2 separate regions of the Homo sapiens genome follow, and region 1 is linked to region 2. The links are contacts of gene promoters, found by promoter capture Hi-C in blood cells and fetal thymus (Javierre and others, 2016). All regions are on one chromosome and are shown on one strand. Each heading gives the region's core, a stretch centred on a gene start or on the middle of the fragment in contact. The rest is flanking DNA. Distances are from core to core; before and after follow the strand shown.

Region 1 (5,239 bases), core at 1,946-4,445, 1.1 Mb before region 2:
CTATATGTGTCACCGGATCATTCTCCGCCTGGGCGGGGCCGTCCTGTGCACTGCAGAATGCTGAGCAGTGTCCTTGGCTTCGACCGACCACATGCCAGGAGCACCCCAATTTCTGCCATCGGGTGATTGACTTCACTGTTGCATTTGATTTTTTATGTATCTTTTAAAAGGACCCAATAGGGCCAGGCACAGTGGCTCACACTTGTAATCCCAGCACTTTGGGAGGCTGAGGTCGGTGGATTGCTTGAGCCCAGGAGGAGTTCAAGACCAGCCTGGGCAACATAGTGAAACCCCAACTCTACAAAAAACAAATGTTTTATTTTTATTTATTTTAGATGGAGTTTCACTCTTGTTGCCCAGGCTGGAGTGCAGTGGCGCAATCTCGGCTCACTGCAACTTCTGCCTCCCGGGTTCAAGCGATTCTCCTGCCTCAGCCTCCTGAGTATCTGGGATTACAGGCATGCGCCACCACACCCAGCTAATTTTGTATTTTTAGTAGAGATGGCGTTTCTCCATGTTGGTCAGGCTGGTCTCAAACTCCCGACCTCAGGTGATCTGCCTGCCTCGGCCTCCCAGAGTGTTGGGATTACAGGCGTGAGCCACCACGCCCAGCCGGGTTTATAGTTTTATAACCCTTATGACAAATCTCATAGTATTCTGCAGGGATAAGCATGAAACCACTCGTTCAATAAGTGCAAACAAAAACGCCAACAATTCTTAAGACATTTCTAATCTTATTTTACCAATAATTTTAAAGCCAGCTTATGTATTAAAGATTTATAACTACTTTTATTAACACGTTTAAAATTCTATGCAGCTTAAAGCATTTATAATGGATAAAACTGCCAATACTGAGTGCCTGACATAATATTTGAAAGGTGGCAGGCATTCAACCATGGTCACTGAATGAGAGATGTAGGGAAGATGATGGCAGGGAGGTTTTTAGATATCAACACCCTGATAGTTCTCATTTTAACCACCTGTAAGTGCACATACAAGTCAACGGCACTGGCCGGGCGCGGTGGCTCATGCCTGTATTCCCAGCACTTTGGGAGGCCAAATCACAAGGTCAGGAGATCGAGACCATCCTGGCTAACACGGTGAAACCCCGTCTCTACTAAAAATACAAAAAATCAACTAGGCATGGTGGCACGCACCTGTAGTCCCAGCTACTCAGGAGGCTGAGGCAGGAGAATCGCTTGAACCTGGGAGGCGGAGGTTGCGGTGAGCCAAGATCGCGCCACTGCACTCCAGCCTCGGCGACAGAGTGAGACTCCGTCTCAAAAAACCAAAAAACAAAAAACAGTCAATGGCATTAAATATAAATACATTTACAGTGTTGTGTAACCATCACCACTATGGATCCCCCAGACTTTGTCATCATCTTCAACCTAAGCGCTCCCTATTAAATAGTAACTCCCCACTTTTCCCAGGCCTTGGCAACCACCATTCTAATCCCTGTCTCTATGAATTTGACTCCTCTCGATACCTCAGATAAGCGGCACAATGCAGTATTTATCTGTCAAGTCCGGAATATTTCCTTTAGCATAATGTCTTCAAGGTCCATCACGTTGTAGCATGTATCTGAATTTATTCTTTTATAATATTTTTTATTTTTTGGAGACAGAATCTCGCTCTGTCACCCAGGCTGGAGTGCAATGGCGCGATCTCGGCTCACCGCAACTTCCGCGTCCCGGGTTCAAGCCATTCTCCTGTCTCAGCCTCCGGAGTAGCTGGGACTACAGGTGCCTGCCGCCATGCCCGGCTATTTTTTTTTTGTATTTTTTGGGGGTTTTACTGTGTTGCCCAGGCTGGTCTTGAACTGCTGAGCTCAGGCAATCTGCCTGCCTCAGCCTCCTAAAGTACTAGGATTACAGGCATGGGCCACCACGCCCGGCCTTATTTTTATTTTTGAGACAGTCTCACTCTGCCGCCCAGGCTGGAGTGCAGTGGTGCGATCTCGGCTTACCGCAATCTCTGCCTCCCAGGTTCAAGCGATTCTCATGCCTCCGTCTCCCAAGTAGCTGGGATTACAGGCACCTGCCACCATGCCCGGCTAATTTAACGCCCAGCTAATTTTTGTATTTTTAGTAGAGATGGGGTTTCACCATGTTAACCAGGCTGGTCTCGGACTCCTGACCTCAGGTGATCCGCCCGCCTCGGCCTCCCAAAGTGCTGGGATTACAGGCGTGAGCCACTGTGCCTGGCTGATTTTTATTCTTTTAGTTAAGGCTGGTTGATATTACCTTGTGTGTATATACCACATGTTGTTTATCCATTGTTGTTGATGGACATGTGGGTGGTTTCACCTTTTGGCTATTGTGAATAAAGCTGCTATGAACACTGTGTACAAATATGTTAGAGACCCTGTTTTCAGTTCTTTTAGGTGTGTACCCCGAAGTGGAATTGCTGGATTTTATGGCAATCCCACGTTTAACTTCTGGAGGAGCTGCTGGAACTGTTTTCCACAGCAGGGGCGCCATGTTACGTCCCTGCCAGCAATGCACGCGCAGTTCAATTTCTCTGCATACTCACCAATATCTGCTGTTTTCCATTAAAAAAAATTATAGCCGGTCGGGTGCAGTGGCTCATGCCTGTAATCCCAGCACTTTGGGAGACCGAGGCAGGTGGATCAACTGAGGTCAGGAGTTCAAGACCAGCCTGGCCAACACAGTGAAACCCCATCTCTACTAAAAATACAAAAATTAGCCTGGTGTGGTACATACCTATAATCCCAGCCACTTGGGAGGCTGAGGCAGGAGAATCGCTTGAACCTGGGAGGTGGAGGTTGTAGTGGGCCGAGATGGCGCCACTGCACTCCAACCTGGGCAAAAAGAACGAGACTTTGTCTCAAAAGAAAAAAAAAAAATACAGCCATTCCAGAAGGTGTGAAGTCATATCTCACTGTGGTTTTGATGCGTATTTTCCTAGTGACATCAGGGAGTTTATGGGAGCACGGGAACACAGACCAGGCCCCAGCAGGCGGACAAACGGTGCAACGCCAGGCTGGCCAGAGGAGATAAGCGCGGCTCCTTGGAGCTTGTGTGCAAGTCACTGTACTGAGGAGCCGGCTACGGCTCGATGAGTCTCAATTAGGAAAGGCCGGGGCTGGTGGAGGAAGGGAGGAGAGCATTCTTCATCCTCATCACATCCTGAGCCTGTGCCCCAGGCTCCCACCACTTCCCTCCCTGGCCACAGAGCTCAGGACAGGGCTGAGGAACCATGTCTCCATCCCCGACCGCCCTCTTCTGTCTTGGTGAGTCCTGAGGGTCAGATCTGGGAAATGCTGAAGGACAGGCATGGACTGCCAGACAAAGGATTTTTAAGAAATTTGCATTGGTGATGAATTTCAGGACAAAAAGGAACCTGTAAGAGCCCCTTCATTTGTTGGGTGGGGAAACGGGGGGCCAGCGAGCTGGCATTTTGCATGAGTTATTCCAGTGTATTCATGGCTGGGTCAGGAAATGAACAGAGTATCCTAGCATTGGTCACAACTTTGTTCTACTACACTGCAGTTGCCCCTTTTTTAAAAAATGTGGGCCAGGCACAGTGGCTCACGCCTGTAATCTCAACCTTGGGAGGCCGAGGTGGGTGGATCACCTGAGGTCAGGAGTTCAAGACCAGCCTGGTCAACATGGTGAAACCCCATCTCTACAAAAATTAGCCGGGCGTGATGGCGGGTGCTTGTAATCCCAGCTACGTGGGAGGCTGAGGTGGGAGAATTGCTTGAAACTGGGAGGCAGAAGTTGCAGTGAGCTGAGGTCAGGCATTGCACTCCAGCCTGGGCAACAGAGAGAGCCTCCATCTCAAAAAAAAAAAAAAAAAAAAAAAAAAAGGCTGAGTGCCATGGCTTACACACTTTGGGAGGCCGAGGCGGGTGGGCCATCTGAGGTCGGGAGTTTGAGACCAGCCTGACCAACATGGAGAAACCCCATCTCTACTAAAAATACAAAATTAGCCGGGTGTGGTGGCACATGCCTGTAATCCCAGCTACTCTGGAGGCTAAGGCAGGAGAATCGCTTGAACCTGGGAGGTGGAGGTTGCGGTGAGCCAAGATCACACCATTGCACTCTGGCCTGGGCAACAAGAGCGAAACTCCGTCTCAAAAAAAAAAAAAAAAAAATTGTGGAATTGATATCTGGACTAGGTATGGATTTAATTTGTCAGTATCCCCTACAGTAGTGGAGTAAATAGTCTCCTGATGGATGGGTGGCAGGTCGAATGCATTTCTGCTGCCTGATCTTCACTTGTGCTGGGCATGTCGAATGCATTATTTCCTGATTTCTTCAGAATTTGACCACTAAAGGGACAGCATCTCCAAAAGGCTAAGCAGGAAGAAGATGGTTGCATTACTGGAGATGAGAGGGTTAACTGTGAATATAAACAACCTCTCATTCATTATCCATCCATGGATGTATTCTTTTTTTCTTTTTGTTTGTTTTTTGAGATGGAGTCTCGCTCAGTCGGTCGCTCAGGCTGGAATGCAATGGCATGATCTCAGCTCACTGCAAACTCTGCCTCCCGGGTCCAAGTGATTCTCCTGCCTCAGCCTCCCGAATAGTTGGGATTACAGGCATCTGCCACCAGGTCTGGCTAATTATTGTATTTTTAGTAGGGGCGGGGTTTCACCATGTTGGCCAGGCTGGTCTCAAGCTCCTTACTTCAGGTTCCACCCGCCTCGGCCTCCCAAAGTGCTGGGATTACAGGCGTGAGCCACCGCACCCAGCCTGTTTTAACTTTTATTTATTTAATTTTATTTGAGATAGGGCCTCACTTCTGTCACCCAGGCAGGAGGGCAGTGGCATGATCATGGCTCACTGCAGCCTCAACCTCCCAGGCTCAACCAGTGCCTCCCCATCAGCCTCCTGAGTATCTGGAACTACAGTTGTACACCATCATGCCTGGCTTGTTTTTGTAATTTTTTTAGTTACGGGGGTCCGCTATGTTGCCCAGGCTGGTCTTGAACTCCTGGGCTCAAGCGATCCACCCACCTCGGCCTCCCAAAGTGTTGGGGTTACAGGTGTGGCCTGTACAGGTTACTGCATCTGGCTTGTTGCTTCAGTAGCTTTTGGGATACAAGTGGTTCTTGGTTACATGGATGAATTATATTCTGGTGAATTCTGAGATTTTAGTGCACCTGTCACCTGACTAGTGTACCTTGTACCTAATGTGTAGTTTTTCATCCCTGCCCCACTTCTGCCCTTCCCTTCTGAGTCTCTGAAGTCCATTACATCACTCT
Region 2 (5,259 bases), core at 360-2,859:
GAAGGCCTGAGGCATCGAGTCAGGAAGACGTCGAAGGAGGCATGAGTGGAGGAAGAGGAAGTGGAGTCCACTAAAGGAAAAAGGAGGAAAGGACCAGGATGGGAGGTTGGAGGGCACCCTGGTGGGAGAGACATGGGTGGGGGCACTGATGGGAAGAGAAAGATGAACAGGAGGAGAAGCACAAGGCAGAAAAGAGAGAAAGTCATGAGTGAGGGCGAGTTAAGGCACGAAGTTTCAGGGGAGCAGCAGCCAAAGAGAAGGGGAAAGAGACAGACCGGAAGACTGGGCCGTGAAAGGGGGCGGGAGAGGCAGGGGACTTCAGAGGACTGGGGGGGAAATGTCGGGAGAGAGAAGATGTCACGGGGCACGAGGGAGAGGAAATGAAGGGGCAGGTGGAGCGGAGGAGCAGGGTCAAGATGAACTGACGGGAAAGAGGGAGAAAGAGGCTGCTGGGTGCAGTGGCTCATGCCCTTCATCCCAGCACTTTGGAGGCCAAGGCAGGAGGATCTCTTGAGCTCAGGAGCTCGAGACCAGCCTGGGCAACAGGAGACCTCATCTCTACAAATAATAAAAAAAATTAGCTGGGCACAGTGGCTCATGCCTGTGGTCCCAGCTACTCAGGAGGCAGAGGTGGGAGGATGGCTTGAGCCTAGGGATTCGAGGCTGCAGTGAGCTGTGATTGTGCCACCGTACTCCAGCCTGGGCGACAGAGTGAGACCTTGTCAAAAAAAAAAAAAAAAAGAGAAAAGGCACAGGGCAGAGTGGAAGAAATGAAACAGGAGGAGCCCCAGGTACTGGAGAGAGGGAAGATGCAGGGGTGTGATGGGGCAGCGCAGGAGACACGGACTAGGGAAAGATAGGATAAGGGGGTTCAGCGGAGAGGCAGAGGGGCTGCAGAGGGAGCATGCCGAGGAATTCCGCAGGGTGCCAGGACGCAGGGAGGAGTGGGAAGGAGGGGAGAGGAGGTCAGGGGCGCGAGTGGGAAGGCGCAGAAGCCCCTCTGGCAGAGGAGGAGGGGTGCCCAAGGGGGCCCCAGGATCAGGGACAGGCAGCCCCGGGAGGCTCAGGGTCTCTCGGAGGGGAGCGGCGGGGGCTGCGGGGAGGGCCGCCCGCACCCTACCTTCCAGGCAGCAGATCCTCCAGAGGCCCGAGTGCGTGAGGCCGCCGGGGTCCTTCTTCTCCGAGGCGCCGCCGCCCCCGCGGTGGGGGGTCCCGTCGTCGCCGCCGGCCGTGAGGTTGGTGGTGTTGCAGATGAGGGCGCGCGTGTAGAGCCAGTAGTCAGTGCTGATGGCGATGGTCATGAGGCCGAAGGCGGCGAAGGCGCCCACCGTCGTCAGCAGCACCTGCACCCCCTTCTCGCACCAGAGGCCCCGCTCTTCGTTCCAGCGCTTCAGCGACTCCAGTTTGACCACGGGCAGCCGGGGGGCCGTGGGCCACCACCGGGGCAGCGGGGGCGGGGCCGTGCCGGCGGCTGGGGGGGGGTTCACAGCGCAGGCAGAAGCGGGGGGCCCGGGGCCGGCGGGGCTGGGGAGGGGGGCGGCGAGGAGGAGGCTGCGGCCGGGGAGGGGGTCAGAGCGCGGCCATGGTCGGCGGCTGGTGGAGGGCAAGGAGCGAGATCTCGCATTAGAGGAGAAGAAGGCACAGGTACCTCCCCCAGTCCCCGCCCCCCCCCCCCCAAAATCCCTGCCTCAGCTCCAGAAACTCCTTCCACTCGGGGCTCCACTGCTTCTCTTTCTCAAAAATAATAATAATAATAATAATAATAATAATAATTAATAAATAAGATGAAATCTCTCTCCACTCTTGTCTTCTGCCCAAGAAAGTCATCCCACCATCCCACTAACCCCACTCGGAGGAGTCCCCACCACCGCTAATAATTAATAAATAAGATGAAATCTCTCTCCACTCCTGTCTTCTGCCCAAGAAAGTCGTCCCACCATCCCACTAACCCCACTCGGAGGAGTCCCCACCACCGCTAATAATTAATAAATAAGATGAAATCTCTCTCCACTCCTGTCTTCTGCCCAAGAAAGTCGTCCCACCATCCCACTAACCCCACTCGGAGGAGTCCCCACCACCGCTAATAATTAATAAATAAGATGAAATCTCTCTCCACTCCTGTCTTCTGCCCAAGAAAGTCGTCCCACCATCCCACTAACCCCACTCGGAGGAGTCCCCACCACCGCTCACACTCACAGCCCTCGCCCCTAGCCCGCGCCGCCTCCGCCCCAGGGGGCTCCACGATCCTCATCGCATGGGAAGCCACCCCCCGCCATGATGCCAAGCCCCACGCCGCCGCCTCCTCCCCAGGAGCCCCCGTCGCGTTCTTCCTTCCTTAGCGACCCCCGCCCCATCACCATGCGGCGCCCACCAGCTCTCCCCACTCTTCCCCTGCAAGCCCCACCTCTCCACCCGCTAGAACCCTTCCCTGTCAGCCCAACTTTTCCCTGAGCGTCTCCACAACTTAAGAAGCCCGAGTAGCACCACTTCCGTGGGAGTAACCTCCGCGAGCCCCCTCCGGTCTGGCTTTTGTCATTCCATCACTCCAAATGGTCCCCCACAGTTTCCTCTCCTTAGGAAAAAATAAATCTCTCAACCTCTCTTCAACTAAAAAGGAAAAATTAAAAGAAGAAGAAAAAGAAAAAGAAAATCCCAGCTGACCCTCACAGTTTGTGCAACTCGGAATCACCAGCCACCCTCAGTCAGCCTCCTCTCCCTGGAAGCCCCCTTCCTGCCTCGGGCAGCCTCCAACACACCTGGAAATCACCCGAGGACCTTAAAAATTCGGATGTTTGAGTCCCACCTGAGAAAGTCCGACATGGTTGGTCTGCAGTGTGGCCTGCGCATGTAAGTTTTTAAAAGCTCCCTGGGGAATTCTAATGCACCCAACATCAGACCCACTGGTTTGCAAGCTGCCCCCCCCCCGCCATCTCCAGCCCATTCCCTGTCACAGCCCCCACTGTCTCCCCACAAGCCACTCACTCCCCACCCCATACTATGCCTTTACTCCAGGAAAACCCCCACCCTCTCTTTTGCTTTAGAAGAGTTTTCTGAATCTTCCCACCCCGCCACCCCCCCCCCCACAACTTAAACGAACTCATATCATAACCATCGTTTTCTCCTCCATTAAGAAAAATTTCCTCCGTGAGTTCCACGGCATTTTCTACTCGCAAGAATGGCTTCCTCCAGACCCCAAATGTCTCTCCACTCAGGACCATTCCAATCTCTGCCCTGTACTCCCATAGCAGGGGGCACACTGTACCACCCACCCGCCCCTCTGCACTCACAGCAGCTCCCACTGCCTCCAAATCCCCTCCTCGTAGCCCTTCATCATCACACGGGATCTTCAGCACACTGTTTCCCCCAACTTGAGATCCCCCTAACTCACTTTGAAGCCCACTCTCTCTTCAATGTACCAGGAAGCATCCTCCCCAACTTCTCTCTCATCATATAGAATTCCCTTGACTCACTTCCTCTTGCTCCACCGCTATAGCTCCCAGGTTCTCCTCTGCCCCGGAAAATCCCCTCCGCAGGCCCCCACAGGCTTCCCTTCTTGGGAACGCCCCCCAGTACTCCCCTCTACGACTTCACCTGTACAGGAACACACACTGTAGCCCCTCATCTTCTTCCACATGCAGAAAGAGCCCCCCCAGTAGACTGTGTCCCTCTGAAAAATGTGATCCGCAAGACTACAACTCTCTTTTCAATTAGGAATACTTTCCCAGCCTGCACCCGCTGCCCCGTGGCTCCTTCATTTCTCTCTTCCACATTCTCCCCCGACCACCATGCCCCCAGCCCTGCCTGTCTCCCCCACCCCAACTGTCCTCTGGGGGATGTACTCCTTACTTGCTTCCACACTGCTTCTTCAACTTCTTCCCCCAAACCCACTATAGTTAAGAGCCTGGAAACCTTAGACGAAGAGGGGATTAAAAAAAAACAAAACAAAAACCAGAACCTAGGTCCCAGTACAGGGTGACCTTGGCCTCCTGATTGCTTGCCCGTCTCCACTGCCCCCCATCAGCTGGCCTCAGACTGGGGCTGCTCCGAGGAGGGGCTGTGGAAAAAGGTTGTCTATGGGGGGTGTCTCCATGGCAACTGGGCCTAGTGCCCCACACGTTGTGTTCCCTCCCCCACCTCAACTCCCGTCTGCCCACACACAGCCCTTCCTCAGGCCACAGTTCAGCAGCCCGCTGGACAGGGCAACCCCCAGCCTCCCGGCCTGGGCGCCGGCCCCTTCCTCTCTTTTCTGTCCGCATGCTGAGTTTCCTCTCTTCTTGATCTCTTGGCCTCTTCTCCCCGAATTGGTGCCCCTCACCACCAGCAGGGCCACCTACCCTGTCTTAACAGATATCTGCTCTCAGTGGGGTAAGCCTGTGACCCCAGGCCCCTAACAACCTGGGATAAGAGGGGAAGGGAAGAGGAGGGAAAGGAGGGAAATTCTCCTTCCGTCCAAAAAAAAAAAAAAAGATTCGAAGATCTTTTCATTTTGTCAATTTGGGGCACAATCTGGTTTTAGGGACTCTTAGTCCATCGTTCAGCAGCTGCCAGGGAGAAGAGAGCTGGGGACCCCCAATTCTAAAGCTTCCGGATATGAGGGGGTCACTCTCCTTTCTCCTTAGGAAGGGGACCAGCTCTTTTCTCCAGAATTCGGGGGGGGGGATCACAGAACATTAATTCTACCTCCACCCACCTCCGATTAATAAAAAGATCTGTCTCACCTCTGTTAATGATAGGTCAACTCTCCGATGCACGGAGGAGGGGACGTCGAGCCCCCCCTGTTGGCACCCCCCCCAGAAAAACCTTTTGGCTCCCAATTCTCGCTGCTTCCCCCTCCCCCAGCAGTGAGGGACCCAGGCGTCCGACCTGGTTCGGGGAGTGGAGATGAGGAGGCGTATGGGGAATGGGGGTGCTGAGGTCAGGCTGGGGCTGGGGGGCAGCTCTGAGCCTGGGCCCCAAGGGAGTGAGGGTCGGGATATATATATTAAAAAAAAAAGGTGAGGAGACAATTTGGTTCTCGTGTCGCTGGGTAAAGTGCGGAGCTGGAGGACGAGAGGGAGGGAGTAGGGAGGGAGGGGGAGGGGAGCTGCTGAGGGATGGGGAGCCTCGGAGAGGAGATGGATGGGGGAAGGGAAAGAGGGGGGCAGGGTCGAGTGGCAGAAGGAAGCCGGAGGAGAAGAGAGAGATCCAGAGAGGGAGGGAGAGAGACAGAGAGAGACGAGGAGAAACGGAAAGAGAGAGACCCAGAGACCGCGAAACAGA

What was found. Contacts are between HindIII fragments. The CHiCAGO score rates a contact against its expected background, and 5 or more counts as called.
Region 1: a contact is called between the fragment with the promoter of GP6 here and the fragment with the promoter of CACNG8 in region 2, in 1 of 17 cell types (monocytes). The highest score is 5.1, in monocytes.

What each region holds. Positions count from the first base shown.
Region 1 is chr19:55,036,220-55,041,458 of GRCh38, reverse strand. It overlaps GP6 (glycoprotein VI platelet), which reads left to right and starts at 3,195. Exons shown (of 8, transcript NM_016363.5): 1 at 3,195-3,256. The coding sequence starts at 3,223. All of the region lies in intron 2 of GP6-AS1 (GP6 antisense RNA 1), which reads right to left. It also overlaps a transcript of RDH13 not described here. The HindIII fragment of the contact is 26,016 bases long and covers 1-5,239 here.
Region 2 is chr19:53,959,287-53,964,545 of GRCh38, reverse strand. It overlaps CACNG8 (calcium voltage-gated channel auxiliary subunit gamma 8), which reads right to left and starts at 1,609. Exons shown (of 4, transcript NM_031895.6): 1 at 1,121-1,609. The coding sequence starts at 1,403. RefSeq lists enhancers at 2,248-2,768, 3,579-4,479. The HindIII fragment of the contact is 5,876 bases long and covers 1-4,583 here.